Linked DNA regions of Homo sapiens: region 1 is linked to region 2. The links are contacts of gene promoters, found by promoter capture Hi-C in blood cells and fetal thymus (Javierre and others, 2016). All regions are on one chromosome and are shown on one strand. The core of a region is centred on a gene start or on the middle of the fragment in contact, and the rest is flanking DNA. Distances in the headings are between cores, read along the strand shown.

The links. The method cuts DNA at HindIII sites, captures the fragments that hold promoters and counts their contacts. A CHiCAGO score of 5 or more calls a contact.
Region 1: the fragment with the promoter of BRF2 here is called in contact with the fragment with the promoter of TM2D2 in region 2 in 2 of 17 cell types (neutrophils and non-activated CD4 T cells); the score reaches 6.4 in neutrophils.

Annotation. Positions count from the first base shown.
Region 1 is chr8:37,848,493-37,855,683 of GRCh38, reverse strand. BRF2 (BRF2 general transcription factor IIIB subunit) reads left to right here and starts at 5,823. Exons shown (of 4, transcript NM_018310.4): 1 at 5,823-6,054; 2 at 7,029-7,088. The coding sequence starts at 5,901. RefSeq lists enhancers at 5,618-5,967, 6,008-6,147. The HindIII fragment of the contact is 8,285 bases long and covers 1,841-7,191 here.
Region 2 is chr8:38,994,423-39,000,929 of GRCh38, reverse strand. It overlaps TM2D2 (TM2 domain containing 2), which reads left to right and starts at 4,421. Exons shown (of 4, transcript NM_078473.3): 1 at 4,421-4,717; 2 at 5,525-5,612. The coding sequence starts at 4,491. It overlaps ADAM9 (ADAM metallopeptidase domain 9), which reads right to left and starts at 3,957. Exons shown (of 22, transcript NM_003816.3): 1 at 3,770-3,957. The coding sequence starts at 3,866. RefSeq lists a silencer at 3,321-3,750 and enhancers at 3,761-4,070, 4,081-4,130, 4,191-4,290, 4,451-4,640, 4,249-4,770 and 1 more. The HindIII fragment of the contact is 5,467 bases long and covers 1,439-6,507 here.

The sequences.
Region 1 (7,191 bases), core at 4,574-7,073, 1.1 Mb after region 2:
AGGAGTTTAAGGCTGCAGGGAGCCTGGGTGACAGAGTAAGACCCTGTCTCCAAAAAATAAAGAAAACAACCAAAACAACAGTATTTCATGACACATACAAATTATATGGAGGGCTGGGTGCAGTGGCTCACATGTGCAATTCCAACACTTTGGGAGGTTAAGGTGGGCAGATCACCTGAGGCCAGGAGTTCAAGACCAGCCTGGCCAACATGGTGAAACGCCATCTTTACTAAAAATACAAAAATTAGGCCGGGTGTGGTGGCTCACGCCTGTAATCCCAGCACTTTGGGAGGCTGAGACAGGTGGATCATGAGGTCAGGAGATCGAGACCATCCTGGCTAACACAGTGAAACCCCATCTCTACTAAAAATACAAAAAAAATTAGTCAGACGTGGTAGTGGGCACCTGTAGTCCCAGCTACTTGGGAGGCTGAGGCAGGAGAATGGTGTGAGCTTGCAGTGAGCCGAGATCGCACCACTGCACTCCAGCCTGGGCAACAGAGCGAGACTCTGTCTCAAAAAAAAAAAAATTAGCCAGGCATGGCATGGTGGCGGGTACCTGTAATCCTAGGTACTTGGGAGGCAGAGGCAGGAGAATTGGTGGAACCCAGGAGGCAGAGGTTGCATTGAGCCGAGATTATGCCACTGCACTCCAGTCTGGGCGACACAACGAAACTTCCATGTCAGGGGAAAGAAAATTATATAGAGGCCTGTACCAGGGCAGGGGCGGGCCCTGAGGAGGCGCCTTGGCCAGACCAGGCTGCACCCAGAGACCACAGGCTGCCTGCTCACCTCATGCCCGTCAGCCACCCTTCCCCTCCCTGCTCCCAGTCCCCGGTAGGGCCAGAGAGGCCACCACCATCGTCCGGTGGGGATCTGGTGGGAGTCTGGTGAAGGGAAGCCGAGAAATGGGTCCTGGGCAGGAGCTCACTGTGCTCCTGAGGGACGGGAGATGGAGGCTGAGTCACTCTGCTCATTGCTGGAGGCCGGGGTGCTGCCTTTCTAACGTGACCATTCGGCTCTCAGCTCTCACCCCTGCCGGTTTGATTCTGTTTTCCCTGGGTCCTGAATACCTAGAGACCCAGCAGAATGTCAGCCAGTGCTGCTCCTGTTAAAGCACTTCTGACTGATTTCTGTTAGTTTAGCTACTGTTCACTAGTTGATGCTGAAATTGCTCTTATTAAAGTTAGATAGCATTAGGATTGTATGGTACTATTGGTACTATTTTTCAAATAAAGATTGTTTAATACGATTCTTACGAATACATGACTTCCACATCTCTGGACCCTCCAGAAGTACATAGGATAAGTATTGTATTTTCATTTAGAGAAAGGGTCTCTCAGCTGGGTGCAGTGGCTCATGCCTATAAGCCCAGCACTTTGGGAGACCGAGGTGGGTGGATCACCTGAAGTCAGAAGTTCGAGACCAGCCTGGCCAAGATGGTGAAACCCTGTCTCCACTAAAAATACAAAAATTAGCTGGGTGTGGCGGCACACACCTGTAATCCCAGCTACTCAAGAGGCTGAGGCATGAGAATTGCTCGAACCCAGGAGATGGAGGTTGCAGTGAGCCGAGATGGTACCACTGCACTCCAACCTGGGCAATAGAGCAAGACCCTGTCTCAAAAAAAAAAAAAAAAAAAAAGAAGAAGAAGAAGAAGAAAGGGCCCCTTTTACCTCAACATCATTGTGTTCAATATGGATAGGAAGGTTTAAAACAGACCATTTCTGATCTATGAGCTGTTATCATACCAGTACGATAAGTTGGCCGGAATAAACTTTGGTTTTAAAACAAAACAAAAAATCATATGAAATTGAATTTCAGCACCCATAGATGAAGCTTTATTGGATACAGCCATGACCGTTTGTTTGTTTACGTAACTGTCTATGGCTGTTTTCACATTACAACAGCTGAGTTGAGTAATTGCAACAGAGTAGCTATTGTCCCAAAAACCCAAAATATTTACTATTTGGCCTTTTATAGAAAAGGTATGATGGCCGGGTAAGTCTGATGGCTGGGTGTGGTGGCCCATGCCTGTAAACCCAGCATTTTGGGAGGCGGAGGCAGGAGGATCGCCTGAGCCCAGGAGTCTGAGACCAGCCTGGGAAACATAGTGAGATCCTGTTTCTACAAAAAAAAATTTTTTTAATTAAAAATATTTTTAAAAAATAGAAAAGAATAAGTTTGCCAACCCCTAGGCTAGGATCGCTTTGAGGGGCAGGAATATAACATTATATCATTTACTTGGAATTGCGGAGGATTGGGGCGGGCAAGGAAAATGGAGGCCATATGACTCAATCCTCTCTCAGGACTTTCCATAAGGCCAGATGAGCCTCAGCCTCCCAGCAGAGAGGCGTTCCAGGTCAGGTTGCCCTGGACTACGCAGTGCACCAGGTCTGTGCTGTGACCACCTTCCTGGAGTTACCAGATGCCTTTGTTCCTAGGAGTTCAAGAAATTGAACGTGTGAATCTTTAGCCCAGAGAGAAATGGCTGGGAGGGGCAGACTAAACTATGCAGAGGGGAAGCTGCATATGAGTGAGGAAAGGTGCTTGGCACGGGGATTTGGGAAGCCCTGGCCATGCTCTGCCCTGAGGCTATCTCATCGGGAAGTGCCCACTAAAGAGTGGTGGGAAGGAAGTCCAGTCAGAAAGGCTCCAAATCTGAGGCAACTGCCAGGCCCAGTGCCACCGTGCGAGCTGTACTCAGGGCTCGGTGAAACTGGGTCGGGGTCGCAAAGCATCATCAGCTAAGCTGAGAGGAGCCCAGGGCTGAGGCTGGAAGGCAGGCCTGGAGAGCAGCCCACTCTCAGCAGTCACTTGCTCTAGATGGAAATGGGTCTGCTTCAGAGGAACTGGGTCTATGTGGTGCTCCTTCTTCTTCATCCTTTTTTTTTTTTTGAGTCAGGGTCTCACTCTGTTACCCAGGCTGGAGTGCAGTGGTGCAATCATAGCTCATGGCAACCTTTTAACTCCTGGGCTCAGGTGATCCTCCTGCCTTAGCCTCCCAAGTAGCTGGGACTACAAGTGCACACCACTATACCCTGCTATTTGTTTTGAGAGGGGCTGCGGTCTCACTATGTTGCCCAGGACAGTCTCGAACTCCTGGCCTCAAGCTGTCTTCCCACATCAGACTCCCAAAGTGTTAGGGTTACAGTCATGAGCCACGTGCCTGGCCCATTTGGTGCTTTGGATAGGCCCACCTAGGACAGGAATTCACGGGAGTTGAACTCCTCTTTACTGAATGCCAGCCCTCACTTTAGGAGGTACTCCTGGGGACACAAGGATGAGAAAGCCAGCTTGTTCCCATAGAGACTTCCATTCAAAGAGAAAGTCAAACAACGAACTAGAATGTACACAGCCAATCGAGGGAGGAAGAGGACTGCATTCAGGTGCCAGATCCTCCTCTTCCTCAGTGCCTTCCTCTACTCTCCCCTCTACAAAGAACTCTGGCCTCAATGTCAGCATTATACATCTGGACCACAGCTGGGCTGCTGTTCAATGGCCTCCCCATGACTAGCTTTCTGCTCTGGCCAAGCCCACCCTGGGCACTCGGGGCATCTGTTAAAAAGATAATCACTGCCAGGCATGGTGGCTCATGCCTGTAATCCCAGCACTTTGGGAGGCCGAGGTGGGCAGATCACCTGAGGTCAGAAGTTTGAGACCAGCCTGGCCAACACGGTGAAATCCCATCTCTACTAAAAATACAAAAACTAGCCAGGCATGGTGGTGGGCGCGTGTGGTCCTAGCTACTTGGGAGGCTGAGGCAGAAGAATTGCTTGAACCCGGGAAGTGGAGGCTGCAGTGAGCTGAGACTGTGCCACTGCACTTCAGCCTGGGCGACAGAGTGAGACTCCTCTCAAAATAAATAAATAAATAAAATTAAAAAATAAGATAATCACTACCAGGAATGATAACTCTTAGAAGAACTGGGAGCAGTGGAGAGGGCACCAAGATGATTTCCACGTCTGTCCAGATTTCCTGGAGCAAGGCAAATACATTTCCCAAATAAATGGACTTCTTCCTGAGAAAGTGGAGAACCCCAAACTTACACATCTTAGTAGAGGGCGCCATCTTCTGGCCTGGACCCTGCCCCCTCCCAGCCTGTGTGTGCCCGAGGACCAGGCTCTCCTAGGCTCCCAGTAAGTACATCATGTGTGACTGGGAAAGACAACCAGCTTTCTCCTTCCGTGGCTGGCTGCAGGATCATAAAACTGCTTTTCCACTTTACAATCAATCAGGTTGGGTCAGGCAGGATTTCAAGGCTTCTGTCCTAGGTAGATGGGCTCTGTAAAGTCCCGCTTAAAAAAAAAGTGAAGGTAGGTTCAAGATCTGCACACAACTGGGGATGAGGGGAGTCTGATGCTCTGCTGTGTGATCATGCAAGGAACTGTTCCCAGTGCAAGTTATGTCGCTTTCAGGGACACTTTCTTCATCCAAATAAGAATGTCAACCACACTAAAACTAATGGATGTCTCTGAGTGGTGTGTGTGTGCGGGTGCGCATGTGCAAATGTATCTTAATATTTAACTGTCAGACAGCCAGAAATAAGCTCTCATCCTGTATCTCACGCTAGTGGGGAGGTCTAGAAAAGGCGGGGGGGCTTGGACTGCCGGATCCCACCCACGATTAATGTGCTGAAGCCCCCTTCTGTTATGATACTAAAGTAATTCAAATTGAAGAGAAAGGACCGTTGGGTATTATTGTGTCTCTTGGCCCTCCAATGTGAGCGATCCCCATGGGAATGGACGGGATGTCTCTGAAAAGGAGTAGTGATTCTCACACTCTGAGAAAGCAGTCTCTTAGGGAAGGGATGGTGTCTTTAGGTTTGGATATCACGTGTAAAAACTGGGTGTGGAAAAGAAGGGAGTGACACTTCTTAAAGGTATGTTTTATTTTGTTTGAGATGGAGTCTCGCTCTGCCACCCAGGCTGGAGTGCAGTGGCGCGATCTTGGCTCACTGCGCCTCCTGCGCCTCCTGGGTTCAAGCGATTCTCCTGCCTCAGCCTCCTGAGTAGCTGGGATTAGAGACGTGCACCACCACGCCCAGCTAATTTTTGTGTATTTTTAGTAGAGACGGGATTTCACCATGTTGCCCAGGCTGGTCTCAAACTCCCGAGCTCAGGTGATCCACCTGCCTCGGCCTTCCAAAGTGCTGGGATTACAGGCGTGAGCCACCACGCCCAGATAGCTCAAGGTTTTTTAAAAAACATCTGAATCTGCGTGCTTGCGCCGCTCCAGGTCTCCATCACTCCATATTCTTTCACTCCAAACTCCTTTAGACATTCCTGCCTGGCCTCCAAAAGCGTTTGGGTTTGCATCTCTGGATTTTTTTTTCAACTTCCTCATTTTACAGTTGAGAAAAACAGGAGGTAAAGAGAGGAAGGAATCTGCTTTAGGAAGCAGCTCTGGAAAGCAGAACACAGTTTCCTGCTCCCGCTCTCTCTCCACTACTCTCCCTTTAAAAAATATACTTTCTTCTATGGCCAATTAAACATTCATTACCAACCTGCGATTCCCTTAGGACTTTAAAAGGAGGGTTGTTCAGGGGTGACAACAATCTTCTGTCTGTTATACGTGTCCATGTAGGCAAAAACTTTCCCAAATTCAACCCCAGTCTAGGTCCCAAAAACTAACTACAGAGTGCAGGGAAACCAGACAGCTACAGTTCAGCCCAGGAACCTCCTCTCCTAGCTCACGTTTCTACCCGAGCCCGCGGAGGCACAGACCGGAAGTGGCGCGCAGCCTCCCAGCGGAGGGAACCGCCTATGCCTCCGTCGCGCTGGCCGGAAGACGGGGGTGCAACCCTTTGAAGTGTCCCCTCCTACTTCTTGCTGCCTCACGGTTGCTGTTGCAGACCCAGGAGTCTCTGAAGGCTTCCGCGGCTTTGGGGCCGGTTGTGAGATGCCAGGCAGAGGCCGCTGCCCGGACTGCGGCTCCACGGAGCTGGTGGAAGACTCGCACTATTCGCAGAGCCAGCTGGTGTGCTCCGACTGCGGCTGCGTGGTCACCGAGGGGGTCCTTACCACTACCTTCAGCGACGAGGGCAATCTCCGAGGTACTTGTGGCCCTGGGGACAGCCTGGGGCGGTGGAGGGATTAACATCAGATTCCTTTTGCCTCCCCGCTCCCCCCATACTCCTAACTGTAACGCACACACTTAATTTGAGAGAAAATGACCTAAAGTGAGCGAGGGAGCTGAAGGAGATGGGGGCTGCCATTCATCTGTGTTTTCCCAGCACTTAGTATCGGGCATAGATGGTGCGTGTAATAAATATTGAATAAGTGAGACAGAAACAAAAGTTCCACTCATCTTGCCATGTCTGGTCATTGTGGAAGGATTGCCGATACGATTATAGCAGGTATTATTACCCTGAAATAGTTTTAAGCACAAACTGGCAAAACATCACTTTTCTTTGCTTTCCAAGTTTCTGACCAGTGCAGCCCTCAAAATCTGCAGCCATTGTCTGGGTGGGGTGGCTTACGCCTGTAATCCCAGTGCTTTGGGAGGCAGAGCCGAGAGGATTGCTTGAGCCCAGGATCTCGAGACCAGCCTTGGTAACGTAACGAGACAAGTGCCTAAAAAAATTTTTTTTTAATTAGCCAGGTATGGTGGCATACACCTGTAATCCCAGCTACCCAGGAATCTGAGGTAGGAGGATTGCTTGAGCCTGGAAGTTGAAGGCTGCCGTGAGCTGTGATCGCACCACTGTGCTCCAGCCTGGACTATAGAGGGAAACTCCTTAAACAAACAACAACAAAATCTGCTGCTAGGAAAATTGCCTGTATGGAATGTACTGGAAGGATGACTGGAAATTTGGAACACTTGGAGCTGCTTTAATGCAGTCCTAACCTTTCCCAGTCTCTGTGTATTCGGAACCTCTTGTAGACATAGAAAACCAGATGGGGCCTTTAACTGTGCAGCAGCAGATGCTCAATGATTTGAATTTTGCGTCCTGGTTTTGTGTGGTGGGAGGGCAGGGGTCTGATGAATAAAGGCTAAGCACACTATTTGTTGTTTATTATCTTACAGAGGTAACATATTCCCGAAGCACAGGGGAAAACGAACAAGTTAGTCGCAGCCAGCAACGAGGTGAGAATTGACCTTTTACAACACAGTGGCTTTAAAGAAAACTATCCTAGGCCAGGTGCTGTGGCTCACGCCTGTAATCCCAGCACTTTGGGAGGCCTAGGCA
Region 2 (6,507 bases), core at 3,172-5,671:
CATGTCTGGGGGTGATATCATTTTCTTTTCTTCCAGTAAGGTTTAGTAACACAATACTTACATTACCATAAACATAAATAAATACAAACAGAACTGCATATTTTAAAACGGACCAAGTTAATTTCTAAGGTTCCCTAGCTCACTCTTAAAAGATGTGATTTAAGGCCAGGTGTGGTGGTTCACACCTGTAATCCCAGCACTTTGGGAGGCTGATGCAGGAGGAACACTTGAGCCCAGGAGTTCGAGACCAGCCTGGGCAACAGAGCAAGATTGCCTCTCCACACACAAAAAAAGTTTTTAATTAGCCAAGCATGGTGACACACCCCTGCAGTCCCAGCTACTCAGGAGGCTTAGGCAGGAGGATTGCTTCAGCCCAGGAATTCGAGGTTACAGTGATCTATGACTGTTCCACTGCACTCCAGCCTGGGCAACAGAGCAAGACCCTGTCTCTCAGAAAGAAAAAAAAAAGATGTGACTCAAGCAGTGTCCCACATATGATCACTTAGGGAAAATAATCTGATTAAAATAACAACATGAAATGGAAAATAAACTACAATAATCTCTCAATATACAAACAACATTGTGCTACCCAACTTTAGTTGGGTCCACATTAGACCCATTCAAAGACTGTGAGAGAGGCTGGGGCGCGGTGGCTCATGCCTGTAGTCTCAGCGCTTTGGGAGGCTGAGGTGGGCGGATCACGAGGTCAGGAGGTCGAGACCATCCTGGCTAATACCGTGAAACTCCATCTCTACTAAAAATACAAAAAACTAGCCAGGCATAAGGCTGAGGCAGGAGAATTGCTTGAACTCGGGAGGTGAAGGTTGCAGTGGGCCGAGATCGTGCCACTGCACTCCAGCCTGGGCGACACAGCAAGACTCCATCTCAAAAAAAAAAAGACTGTGAGGGATTAGCTACTGAGATACAAAAGGACTGCATTCATTTATGAGGCAGTTCCATAGCGCTGACTCAAAAGGATGGCATGACTCCAAGCCTCCAGTATATGTTACATACCAAAAAGGAAAAAGAAATATGAGGCTATGTCATATGTTTGAGCTTGCGGATATTCCCAAGAAAAAGCTTCCAGTTACTTAGAGCTTGCATCTTTTGGGGGATTCCATAATAAATTCTATTATAAACCCAGATTTTTTACAAAGAGCAAATATAAATTTGGTAAGTTAAAGCTTCAAGTGCTTTTTGAAAACTGTCTTGGAAACCAGGAACTAGGTTTGTACATATTTTAATTATATATGCTTTCTTTTTTACTTAAAAGGTTGAAAACCAAATCATTCTTAAATGTAAAAGGCTACATTCTCCTATCGGCACAAACACAAACATATCAAATTCAAATATTTTGCTGGCATCTGAAAACGAGATTAGTATGGACCTAAGTTCTTACTACACAAATGATTTTACAGTGACTCACCATGAGTAAGCTTTCAAAGTCATTTTCTTTAGAATGCCAGTCTTTGTTTAAAAAAAAATTCTAAATCTGTTCCTCATAATTACTACCTTAGAAAATCAGAAGAGGTTTCATACCTGATTCCGCTTATTTTTTACAATGACACAGTTACCTTTGTCAGTTTAAAAAAAAAAAAAAAGTTTACTGAAAGTTAGCTGTTTGGAAATTATACTGCATTTCCTCATTGAGACAATGTTATAAAAGGTAGTAAAAATCCTATAAAACCTAATTAACTCCTAATGTAACTGACGTGTGCCTGGTACCTCAAATTCCTCTTTCGATCCTGGAAAATGTTTCAGTGCACGTTTTAAACACCTTATACTGCAAAAATGTGGTCAGCTGATTTTGTATGAACGTTCCCCGAGAGAAACAAGAGTTGACTCACTGCACACTATTACAAAAGCCTCTTAACCGGTGTCCCAGCCTCTAGTCTCTCCCTCCTAGATTCTATCCTCCACCGTGTTGCCCGTTTTCTTAACAGAAAATGAGATTAGGTCGCACCCCTACTTAAAACCTCCACTGCCCAAAGAACTTCCTACGGGGTGAAGTCCAAACCCCTTAGTTCAGCATAGAAGACTCTTCCCAACTGGTAACAACCTACCTTAGTTTGATCTTCCATCCCTCCCTTTTATAGTCTGCATGAAGACATATTGACATTTTTATCATTTCCTAAAAAGTCATGTTCTTTCATACGCCCCCCGCCCCACCATACTCTTGCAAAAACTTTCCTCTGCTTAGAATGTATCTACTATTCTACTTGAAAAATCACCGATGTAGCCCAGTTCAAATATTATTTTCTCTAAAAATCTTCCCCAACATCTCTCAGATGCGCTTAGCATATTTGGTCACCTTCTGCCCCTCTACAATCAACTGTGTGGTGTTTATAGGAGTTCCATAAACGGTGGCTAAACTTTGAAGGGGCATACACATGCCGAAGTGAGGAGCTGGCCAAAACCACAGTTAAAGACCATCAGGATATTCCACTCACCTAATGCAGGTCGGTAATGACTGACAATTTATATTAACATTTAAAAATACAGTCTTATTTACATTTACAAACACAAAAAAAAATCACAGATTAATAAAACTCCGGATGTATAATCGTCTTCACCTTAAACATCGGTGAGTGTTAACCATCTAGAATACCACCGGAAAAGTAGTTTTAACCAGAAGAAATTTGGCAACTTCCCATTCAAAACATTGTCAGAGTTTCAACATTTCCACACTGGGGCAAATTTACTTAATTTCAAATAAAGCAGCCAAAGATAAGAAAAACAAGTAATTAGTTTCCTGAAGGTCAACAGTCCTGCGTTGAAATCTTCTATCATCACCTTTGAATAACTTTCAATCAATGATTTAGTAAAAACTCCCATTCTCCATCATCCTCTGTCGCTGATAGAGAAAATACAGCCATGCAAACAATTATATCATACAAAATCCAAAATAAACAACTTGTTTCCAGAAAGACGCCAGCGTGCTGACAATCTGCTTCCACTATGTTTGGGCATCTCCAATACAAGTATCTTACATAGTCAAGGGCAGTTTCACAATTCAAAAACGATTTCACACAAATGATTTAATTCCTACAATAATCCTGTGAGTTCAAAAGAGCAGGGATTATCTGTCCGGATTTAACACAGTACGAACCCAATAAAAACACAGATTTTTTAAGAATGGTTTGGCTATAGAAAGGTAGCACATCGTTTACAAAATATTCTTACTACAAAAATGACCCAAGAGAAATGAGCGTCCTCCCACCCACCTTTATTCCACCATTAAATTTAGCTGTGTTGACCCAAGGATACCATGAACGTCAAAATTTCAAATTATAACCTGCAGCAAAAGTTTCATCTCTCAGTCTCTTTCCAAGCGACATTAACTCCACGAGCGAGAGCCAGCTCCCTCCCTGCAGGCGTTTGGAGGACTGAACGCCCGCGGGCGCGCCCAGCCTGCAGGGCTCCGGCCCGCCGAGGTCAGCGCCCGCCCCAGAGCGGGTTTCGGGGCGTCTGGGGGACCCGGGGTCGCGCGAGGCGGCGAGGGATGGGGGGACGCTGGGAACGGCTCCATCGAACAGGACACGGAGGAAGCGGTGCCGGGCAGAGGACCCGGGCCAAGAAGGGCTTGGGGCGCCAAACCCCGCGCCTCGGGTGCGACCCCGGTCCGCACACACCTGGAGCGGCCGCGCCCCCCGACCCCGGGTCCGATCCCCAGGCCGGGCCCCTCCACTCCCAGGCACCACAGGTTCACTCCGAGCGCCCCGTCCCTAGGAAGCAGCCGTCCCAACCGACCCGGGGCGCGGACACCCACCTGGCCGCGCCGCACCGAGGACTGGGCCCACCAGGCCAAGCAACAGCAACCACCGGACACGAAGGGTCCCCGAGGGAAAGCGCGCGCCAGACCCCATCTCGGCCGATTCCGCAGGTTCCTCTCAGCACTCGGTCGCCTCCACCTCCGCCTCTTCCATCATTTTCCAACCCTGCCGGGGCCCCAAGTCTGGCCGGGAAGCGCGCGCGCCCGACGAGCACGCGCGCCCGACGAGCACGCGCGCGGCACTGACGCAACTGAGCCCTCGGTCCGAGCTCGCTCCCGACATCGCCTAGCTGCGCTGACGTAGGGAAAAATCCAGTCCCCGGCGCGAGAATAGGATTTCTAAACCGGCGGTGGCAACCAGCACTAGTCGGCCCGCCAGTCATATCCGCCCCGCCCCGTCGGCTGCCGGGCACGCCCACCTAGGGGGGTCGACGGATCCGATTGGAGAACGCATTCGGCGCAAAAGAAGGAGGAGCATGAGACCCAGAAGAGGAATCGAGAAGCAGAAGCAGAGGGCGGAGTAGCCCCGCCCGTCTGCTCGACCTTTTCTAGTTGGTTGGCGGAGGTGCGCGGAGCGTCGAGCTGCGCGTCCATTGGCTGTTTGGCGGGGCTACGCGGGCGGGGCTACGCGGAAAGGCCTGACCACGCAGTTCTTGGGTCTGTGCTGCTGGCCTGGGGTTGTGGTTGAGGCCGGGTCTCCGCTCCTGTGCCCGGGAAGATGGTGCTAGGTGGTTGCCCGGTTAGTTACTTACTTCTGTGCGGCCAGGCGGCTTTGCTGCTGGGGAATTTACTTCTGCTGCATTGTGTGTCTCGGAGCCACTCGCAAAATGCGACCGCTGAGCCTGAGCTCACATCCGCTGGCGCCGCCCAGCCGGAGGGCCCCGGGGGTGCTGCGAGCTGGGAATATGGCGACCCCCACTCTCCGGTCATCCTCTGCTCTTACCTGTAAGCTACCAGTGGTCGAGGCGGGTGGACGTGGAGGGTGTGCCAGGAATATATGGGTGTTAAGGGAAGGCAGGGTTGGGGGGACGCTGCATTTTTTCAGACCCTGCCTCTCTGAGGTCGTTCCGGAGGCAAATATCATGAACCAGGTTTCTCACAGCCCGTGCAGAGAAAACTCTTGTGTGTCAGTGACAGAGGCTTTGAGATCCCCAAAGAGGAAAACTGGGTAGGAGTAACATCATATAGCCTCTGGAAGAAGGGCGTAAGGTTGTGCTTTCTTTGCCCTGCGCCCTTTAGCCCAAGGAGAGTATTAGTCGGTCGATTCGGTGCCAGTACTGAGTAAGGCATAAATGGAGTAAATGACTTGTCTCTGCCTACAAGGCATCTTTTAAAAAAGCAATCAATATTCTTACCGTTGCAGAATCACGCCATTTTTTAACATCTCTTTTTGATCAAACAAGAAAAGGCATTTGGGAAATGCAAAGAGGACTGAGAATACTTTGGCTTAAATTTTGCCCCCAGAATCTTGTTGTTTGCCTACTGAAGAGATGAAACCATGGCAGAAGTAGAATCCTTATAGAAACAGGACCAGAAACACCTCCCTTCTCCAACAAAAGGTTCATTTTGGTGGCTGTCCGTTTGACCTGCTGTGCTTCAGTTTAATTGGCTTGGAAAGGGGTCAGCAGGGTGAAACCGAACCCCAGAAAACTTGATGAAGAAATGTCTTTTGCCCGTTTTGATTACGTGCATGCAAACAGCGATTTGCAAAGACCGTATGATGATGATCATGATCTTACTGGTGAATTACAGACCTGATGAATTTATAGAATGTGAAGACCCAGTGGATCATGTTGGAAATGCAACTGCATCCCAGGAACTTGGTTATGGTTGTCTCAAGGTGAGTTTTTGTTTTGTCGTAAGAGCAAACCCTTCGATAACGAAATAGGAATGTCTGAATGCTATTACATAAAAGTATAAGAGGTACAAAGTTTTTTGAAGAATTTCCTCAGAAAGACCGTTACTGGAAATTTCCAGTATGGCCAGGGTCAGTGACTGAACAAGATATTTGGTTTCCTTATGAAGGAGCAATCTCTGTGCTAAAACCACCCAGGTGCAAAGACCAACCTGTCTTTGGTTCCTTTGGCCACTGACAGATTTTGAAACTAAAATGTCACCCCTGACTCTCCTTCAAGGCATGAACCTTTCCTGAAAGAGCAAAAGGAAGTCTGTGCACTTTGCAACACTGGTGATGGATTGGGCAGTATCTTTGTTACACATGCATTTGGGGCAGAGCTTTTCTTGCCAATGACATTTCTTTTCTCCAGGCAAACAGGTTCCACCATGTCCGTAGGAGACAGATAGAGTCTACCGGTATATGTCTTTGTAGGACATTAAAGCGTTCCAGCGGAAGCCATTGGTTAACAGTGGCTTCTTGGAATGGAAAAACGCTATTAAGGTTTATTAGTAATATCCCTAAAGCTGAGTGTACAGTTCCTAATCAATCTCTCAAAATAACCAATGAAGTTCATGTATCTCCTCCCCACCATGGACTCGCCATCCTATTATGCCACATAATGCAAGTCAAGATTTGGTCAGATGTTAAGAGAATGATGGGAAGGCATGTTTTGTACTAAATCAGACACAGAGGAATAAACCTGACAGTAATAAGACTAAAAGGGCAACTCTTACTGAAATCATGTATAGATAAATATTTAAGACAATGAAATTTTACTCTGTTGATAATTATTGATTAAAGTTTGAGTTAATATTGTATAGAGATCACTTTTGCCCAT